Regions from separate parts of the Homo sapiens genome. Here region 1 is linked to region 2. The links are contacts of gene promoters, found by promoter capture Hi-C in human tissues and cell types (Jung and others, 2019). All regions are on one chromosome and are shown on one strand. The core of a region is centred on a gene start or on the middle of the fragment in contact, and the rest is flanking DNA. Distances in the headings are between cores, read along the strand shown.

The links. Contacts are between HindIII fragments. The study calls those that stand out against the background at their distance.
Region 1: a contact is called between a fragment that was not itself captured here and the fragment with the promoter of EIF2AK4 in region 2, in 1 of the 25 tissues and cell types used here (IMR-90 fibroblasts).

Annotation. Positions count from the first base shown.
Region 1 is chr15:39,616,398-39,620,587 of GRCh38, reverse strand. FSIP1 (fibrous sheath interacting protein 1) reads left to right here. Exons shown (of 12, transcript NM_152597.5): 11 at 2,343-2,853. Among named protein-coding and RNA genes, the nearest start is that of THBS1-IT1, 32 kb to the right of the region's middle. RefSeq lists an enhancer at 2,055-3,254. The HindIII fragment of the contact is 4,351 bases long and covers 229-4,190 here.
Region 2 is chr15:39,930,997-39,935,459 of GRCh38, reverse strand. EIF2AK4 (eukaryotic translation initiation factor 2 alpha kinase 4) reads right to left here and starts at 1,345. Exons shown (of 39, transcript NM_001013703.4): 1 at 1,121-1,345. The coding sequence starts at 1,264. RefSeq lists a silencer at 1,063-1,472 and an enhancer at 1,493-1,632. The HindIII fragment of the contact is 10,364 bases long and covers 1-4,463 here.

The DNA.
Region 1 (4,190 bases), core at 1,155-3,654, 320 kb after region 2:
ATTACTTTTATTTTTATATTTAATTTTAACTTTTGTTATAGTAATAAAGAAAAAATTGTGTTAAAATGTTTTAAATAAAAATGGCAGCCCCTTGCCTCAGCCTTCCCTACCCCTTGATATTTTCTCCAGTTAACTGCTTTTAAATCTTTTGTGTTTTTCCTAATTTTACCTCTATATTATTTATTAATAACTTACTTTCTTAATTGATTAGTTTTAGACATTATATATTGGGTTGCTGTAATGGTAGGCAATAATTTAACTAATAAAGTGCAAACACCCCTTGTTTCTCGTCACATTTCCCCAAAATAGTTAAGTCACAATTTTTGCTTACCTTAGTCATCAGTATTTATATTATCATTGACTGTGTAAATATTATTCACAGCAGAAGCAATTATTAGCCTATGGCATCCTTTCTCATGTAACTTTTTGTTTGTCCTAGACTTCATAATTATCTTAGTTTCTTTTGCCTAATTTTCTGTGTATATGTCACTGCTTTTCCTTTTTTTTGTAAAACTTTTTGTTTTCCCCAGAGTTCATAATTGCTTTGATTTTCCTTCTGCTTCATTTTCTGTGTATTTAGCCAAATACATCATCAGAACTGCCAAACATCTATCATATCAATATTACTTTTGGAAATGGTCAAGCATATTGGATAATCTACCAATCCTCCCTCCTACCCTTTTTTCCCTAGAGACCTCCTCCTGCTCTAATATGGACTGATTTTTTTTCTAGTGTCTAAAAATTTCATCATAATAAGGCTTTGATGAGGATGTTTGGTAAGGATGACACTCAGCGGGCTCTTTCTAAATCGTAGGGAATTGTCTACACATTATATGTAATTTTACATAAGCAAAGTTTGAAAGTGTGTTTTAGGTATCTAATGTCATAGAAGGACTTCCTTCATTTTCTACTTGACTAGGTTTCCATAGTAGGGTGGAGATAATGCTCCTGATTCTGGATACAGATGGATAAAATACTATATCTGGATTCCTGAAATGCCTAGTGACTAAAAGTAGAATTTGCTAATACATAATTCTAATCCTATTTCTTGCCATATATATTAACCTTAGGGTCAGTCACCTGAATTTTGAATTCCAAATCTCAAATCCTATTTCTTGACATGTATATTAACCTTAGGGTCAGTCACCTGAATTTTGAATTCCAAATAATTACTAAGAATATATTTCCAGACAATTTCTTATTATCCTCATACTCATAGTGACACTTGCCACTGTAAAAACTAGTTTTAATATAGGTAAGTTAAACATAATTTTAAACAATATTTTTTAAACATGGCACAAAATTGTTTTACATATTAGTATTTATTAGTTGCATTAGAAGCTTTACCTAATAGTGGAGAATTAACTATACTAGTATCAGTAATAGCTTTTTATTTCAGTACTTTACATATGCAGAATATTTAGTTATTTTTTACTATGTACCTTCAGAGTAGGCCAATAACATTATTTTACTTTGCTGAAGTAGAAATTAAAGTCATTGAAATTCATGATTAAGTTTTCTTATGGGGACTTCTTGTTCTCAGATAATTCATCCCCCTGTAAAGGAGGATTAGTCTTTTCCTAGATAATCCACATGTAAACCATGGAAGACACTGATTTTTTGGGGAAGTAGACATTTTTTTTTCAGTGTGTTTCACTATATTTTAATCTCATTCCTTTTTGAGATTGTTGCAACTCAAATGTTATGGTATTCAGCTGAAGTCTTGTGGGACATGGCTCTCTACTTTCATTTGATTTTTAAAAATTTATTTCCTGAGAATATTGCTGAAAGAAAAAAAATGTTTTTAAATATTTAAGGTCTTGGTTGAAACACTTAGCCCTGGTAACCTTTACAAGCAGAGATTAAGTATGCATGATCAAATCATTCTCCCCAAATACACCGCCTCTGGAATGCCCCTGGCCTCTGCCTAGACCTGTAGCTTTGCAGCAACGACACATTGCAGGATGCACCACCCTTCACCCTTCCTTTTCTGTCTTCAGCAGTATTGTCCACTGATAGTTGTGGACAGACATGGGAGTGCTGAATCCCCAGAGGTAGGGGTAGTCTGCCTTGTATGCCAATTTTTTTCCCAGTAAGGAATTGGATGGTGGTGGGATTCATGCTGAGGGATGGGTGGGGTCAGAGAAACACCAACCAAAGATTTTGCCAGGATTATGACATTTCCCCTACAGTTTTGGATACTTTACAATGAATTATTTTTCTATTTTTATGTGTTGTGTAAGGGGTTACTTGCATTTATATTTGTATTACTGGATGCCTACCAAAAATAAATGTGTTTACTCAGTCAACTGACTATGTAATCTTTTGGTTTGTTTCATCAGTTAGAGTCCACATCATGTCTCTCTGAAGAACAGTTAAAGTGTCTTCTGGATGAATGCATACTTAAACAAAAATCCATCATTAAACTTTCTTCAGAAAGAAAAAAGGAAGACATTGAGGACGTAACACCTGTGTTCCCCCAGCTTTCCAGGTCCATCATCTCTAAATTGCTAAATGAATCAGAAACAAAGGTCCAGAAAACTGAGGTAGAAGATGCAGATATGCTTGAGAGTGAAGAATGTGAAGCTTCTAAAGGCTACTATCTCACTAAAGCCTTGACTGGACATAACATGTCAGAAGCTCTTGTCACTGAAGCAGAGAATATGAAATGCCTTCAATTTTCCAAGGACGTTATTATTAGTGACACAAAAGACTATTTTATGTCGAAGACTCTTGGCATTGGGAGACTGAAAAGGCCCTCCTTCTTAGATGATCCACTGTATGGTATCAGTGTGAGCCTTTCATCAGAAGACCAACATCTGAAACTCAGTTCTCCAGAGAATACAATAGCAGGTGAGGCTTGGCGAACATGTGTTTTGGTAAATAATTCTTAAAAGCACCTCAATATAAAGGTATTATGGTTTAAATTAGAGTCGGGTAAGAAGGTATGTTTGTAAGTCACAGGTAGCGTCAATAAGAGTATGCAAACATAAAACCTATTTCCCAATGCTCTTATGAAATCAAAGTTGAGGTTAGTACTCTATGAAATACGTTATTCTTGATGGTAATTAATTGTGTCATCCAGAAAATAATGTTGGTTTCACAGGAAAAGAGAAATTAGTTTGAATGGAGAGAAATACTTTGAATAGATTTGCTTAGTATTTCAACTTCAAACTTTAGTATTTTCAAACTTTAGTGATGAAAATTTGTTCTAAGGAATGAATTTAAAATGTAAAACTTGTAACTCATTGTGGTTATATTAGTTTCTGTATGCAAACCTCCTCTCCTGAGCCACTCCTATGTTCTCAGGTGTTTCGTCACGATCTAGTGTTTCATCTTGCAATGGTCATGGTACAGGATACAACAATAACTAGTTTTCGACACAAACAAATATTCAATTATTTATGTTAGAAATCTGTGTAACAATTGGTGAATCTATTTAAATAGATTCAATTTTTACCTCTATTGTAGATTACTCTAAAATATATTGGCTATTACATTTCTATCTATTAATCTATTCCTTATTAAATCTATAATCCATTAACTCTGAACTGAGTCAGATTTCGGTTTTGACTTCCATTTCCTTAGTCACCCAGGAGCAAAATCTGAGTCATCACTGAATTACTTCTCTTTCTTGCTTCCCACTTCCAGTGTTCAGGTGTTGTTTGTTCTATTCCTGCGGTGTCTCTCATGCCCATCCCTTCCTTTCTCTTCCTACAACTTCAACTGGACCAATGCCATAACCCTTCTCCCAGACCTCCCTGCCTCAAGTCTCTCTTCTCTTCCTACCATTGTTGACAACCACTAAACGAATTTCCTTAAAGCACAGCTTTGATAACCACACTTCCTTCTATGGCTCTCCAATGCCTGTTGATCAAAATCAGAATTCCTTAACTTGTTCAGTGTCTCCATGATCTGACCTGAAGTTCTTTTCCTAATCAATCTCTAAGTAGTCACCTAAATGTTATTCAGTGTGTAGCTAATCTGGTCTAATGATTTCGGTGATTTCCTAGCTTCTGCTGTTGTTCAGGCCCTCTTCTTCCCAGAAATGTTCAGGTACCCCTTCAATGGTATTTGAATTCCAACCTTATCCTCTCTGATTGTAGCCTTCCCTGGTCCCCTCTGTTAAGTTTTCTGTCTTCTGTGAATGTCCAAGCACTTTGGTTTCCTATAGGATCACATACACACTC
Region 2 (4,463 bases), core at 96-2,595:
TACTTGACAGGCTGAGGCAGAAGGATTGCTTGAGAATAAGCTGCAGTGAGCCGTGGTCATGCCTCTGCACTCCAGCTTGGGAGACAGAGCAAGACCCTGTCTCAAAAAGAAAAAAAAAAAAAGCAGATGAAGTTAGAACTATGTTTTAAATGATAATATGATAATATTCAGAAATAGTTTGGTAGATCAACTCTTCAAGGATGGGGAAAAAACTGTCAGTATAAATACTTTATAACGTGCCTTAATTTCCAGACAAAAAGGCAAAATATTATTTTAAACAAAATGCCATTTTAAAAGGTCTAGAGCTAGAGCAAGCTGGTCTAACCCGAGGCCCATGGGCCGCTTTGAATGTGGCCCAACACGCATTCGTAAACTTTCTTAAAACATTGAGGTTTTTTTGCGAATTTTTTTTTTCTTTTAGGTCATCAGCTATCCTTAGTGTTAGTGTATTTTGTGTGTGGCCCAGGGAAGCCAAAAGATTGGACACTCCTTCTCTAGACTCAGTCTAGAACCCTCTCTCTACTACAGCTAAGATGAATGTGTGCTTTATTCTGAGCTAAATGTCTTAGAGGAAGGTGCAGAGGTATGGAAAGTTCCTCCATACCGGAAAACACAGTGAGGATGCCTGGGGAGTACAGAGGGAATTATGTGGCGTGCAGATTTGAATGCATGGATGAGACTTGAGAATTCTGATTGAGGACGTAAGGCCTGTGCGAGAGCCCAAAAAGCGTTCTCAGAACAAAGTAGCAAGGGGCGCGTATGAATTGCTGTGGTATCATCCGCAAGGGCTTTCAGAGGGGAAAAAGGACAAGGTTGGAAGGAGGCAGTTATGTTATGGGATGTAGGCAGGAATAAGAAGCAGTGCCAGGTAAGAGGGAGGAATCCAGGGGGATTCCTCTGGGGAAATCATGGGGAAAGGACTGTAGAAGAATTCGGCCTAGGTGGGATTCTGCAGACCAGCTGCAGGTGCAAGGACTAAAGTGAGCATGGGTGGAACCTAAGGGATGAAAAGACTGCAGGATCCTAAAGCGGCGGCCCAATCTGGAAGTGTCCGGGCTTTGGCCCAGGGCCCGGGGAGGCCAGGGCACGCCAGCCCGGGCCTGACAAGCCACGTTCCTACCGGTCCGCAAGCGTCCGGCCGCAGGTCTTGGAAGTCCGCGCCGTAAATGGCCTCCAGGGCCTGTAGCTCGTGGTCCTGTCGTTGCGGGTAGCTCTCCGGAGGCTCGTCCCGGCCGCGCCCGGGGGCCCCACGGCCCCCAGCCATGGCAGCGCTGCGCCCAAGGCAGGGCGGCCTTGCCTGGGCGGCGGTGGGCCCCCGGCAGCCTGCGGGGCGGGGCTCCGCGCTGGGGACGGGCTATGGGCGGTGTTCCACGCTGGAAACGGGCTCGTGGGCGGGGTTCCGCGCCGGGGACGGGCCGTAGGCGGAGCTCCGCGCCGGGAGCTAGCTCCGGAGGCTCCAGAAGCCCAGGCGAAGGAAGAAGGCAGGGGGACAGCTTTGCCCACATCCTGCTGGGGGAAGGGGAGCAAAGGAACTCCACGAACTTAAGAAATGAATCACAGATAGGAATGAAAACGCCACATTGTATAGTTTTCACGAAACAAGTATCTTTAACAGAAGTGCTTGCTGGAACTTCTCCACCCTGGCATGGCTAGTGCGGGAAACTCTTTTTTCTTTTTTTTGGCAGAGTTTCGGCTCTTGTTCCCCAGGCTGGAGTGCAGTGGCGCGATCTCGGCTCACTGCAACTTCCGCCTGCCGGGTTCACGCGATTCTCCTGCGTCAGCCTCCAGAGTAGCTGGGACTACAGGCGCGCACCACCACGCCCGGCTAATTTTTCTATTTTTAGTAGAGATGGTGTTTCACCATGTTGGCCAAGATGTTCTCGATCTCCTGACCTTGTGATCCGCCCGCCTCGGCCTTCCAAAGTGCTGGGATTACAGGCATGAGCCACCGCGCCCGGCCGGGAAACTCTTAAAGGGCAGACGTCGATGGGTTCTGAGGTCACTTCTAATTTCACCTTGTACCTTCCCAGAACAAGACTACCGGGAGTAAAAATTGTGACCCCCCCCACCCTCCTTCCTCCCACTTTAGTACCCCCAAACTTATTCTCTGAGCCACAGATTCAACACCCTCATTATGTTCTCTGTCTCTACATTCCCCAGCTTTGGGGATCTCCACTACCACCTTGCAAATTCAATTGAAAACTGTCTTTCCACTCAGGCATCTTTATGAGCTACCTTCCCATGAAGAGAATCATGTTCCCTTCCCAGTTCACTCAGTGTGAATTTAGGGAGTCTTTGTGTTATATCCTGCCTCAAGTCGTCGTTTTTCAAGTTTATAAAATAATAACCTGTCTACCCAGACATTGTTATTGCACTTCATCTTCAGTAACTTACTAATGCTGCATGTCCATTTCGAATAATCCTATTGTACTAACCCAAGTTAGGTTTAAGTGACGTTTCTTCTGTCTACCTTGCTTACTCCTCCACTGTTCACTAAATAATGATTGTGTAAATTCCTTGCTGCCATCTATCCACTCATTTCTGGCCAGATAACACAAATGCACTAGCTTGACCCAAGGCCAATTTAAATCATCATCTTCCCTCTGCTGGAGACCCGTTCCTTCTCCAGTGATCTCTGACTAGGTAAATGGCACCATTCAACTGAGTGTGATTCTGAATTCCCTTTCTCTCAACTCACATCCAAATAGTCACCACTTCTGTCCATCCACTACACTCTAACCCATTGCCACTAACTTAGTTCAGGCTACTGTCACCAATTCCCTGGGTTACTTCAATAACTCTCTTAATTAGTCACTGTCTTCATTCTTGCCCCACATTAAGCCATTCTTCCTATTGCAGCCAGAGTAATGTTTCTAAATTGCAAATATGGCCATTGCACTCTAATCCTTAAAATTACTCCATTTCTCTATTGGTCTTTAAAAAAATTCTTTTAAACCTATATTTATGAAAATGTCAAACATACTTAGAAGTAAACTCCTCTGTACTCATCATCCAGCTTCAACAACCATAGATATTTTGTCAATTTTATTTCATCTCTTCTCTCCATCCCTCAGGAGTGTTTTTTTTAAGTCTCAATCATATCATTTTAAAAAATAAATACCTAAGGATATATCTCTAACTAGAAAAGGAACCAACATAACATATTACTAATCTTATACCCTAAAAATGTAACCCTTTGGCCAGGGACAGTGGCTCACACCTGTAATCCCAGCACAAGGTGGAGGATCACTTGAGGCCAGGAGTTTGAGACCAGCCTGGGCAACATAGCGAGGCCCCATCTCTACAAAAAATAAAATAAAAAATTAGCTGGACGAGGTGACATGTAGTCCCACCCTCAGGAGGCTGAGTGGGAGGATTGCTTGAGCCCAGGAGTCCAAGGCTGCAGTGAGCTGTGATTGCACCACTGCACTCCAATCTGGGCAACAGAGTAAGACCTTGTCTCTTAAAAAAAAATTAACAATTTCTTAGCATCGTTTAATACCTAATCTATGTTCAAATATTTCCATTGTGTAAAATTAGAATCTATACTGGACGCTGGACCTATAAAAGATATAATTAAAACAAACAGCAAAATTTGAAAGGAATCTGTGGATTACATGGCAGTATTATACCAAATGCAGCATTAAGGGGGCAGTGACGTATTAAATATGCAGTTAGCTCCCAAATGATTCAGGAAAAAGAAGAGAGATGATGCTAAATCAAATGTAGAATGTTGAACATTGGAGAATTTAGGTGAAGGATATATGAGAGCTCTTTGAGTGACTTGAAAATTTTATGTAAGTTGGAAATTATTTTAAAGTCAAAGTTCAAAGCAAAAAAAATAAGAAACTGTCAAAGTGTTTTCCAAAGTGGTTGTACCACTTTATATTCCCATCAGTTTATGGGAGTTCCAGTTGTTCTACCTCTTTGCCAGTAATTGGTATTGTAATGTTTTTAATCTTAAACATAGTAATTGGTGCTTAGCAGTATCTCAGTGTGTCTTAACTTGCATTATCCTAATGATTAATGATGTTGGGCATCTTTTCATGTGATTATTTTCCATTCATATATCGTCTGTCTTCTGTTTTTATTCACATCTTTGGTGCATTTTAAAAATTTTGTTTTTGTTTTCTTATTAACTTTTGAGAAATATTTATATATTCTGGACATGTATTTTTTTTTTTTTTTTTGAGATGGAATCTCACTCTGTCACCGAGGCTGGAGTGCAGTGGTGCGATCGCAGCTCACTGCAACCTCTGCCTCCCGGGTTCAAGCAGTTCTCCTGCCTCAGCCTCCCGAGTAGCTGGGATTACAGGCATATGCCACCACGCCCAGCTAATTTTTGTAGTTTTAGTAGTGACGGGGTTTCACCATGTTGGCCAGGCTGGTCTTGAACTCCTGACCTCGTGATCTGCTCGCCTCAGCCTCCCAAAGTGCTGGAATTACAGGTGTAGGCCACTGCA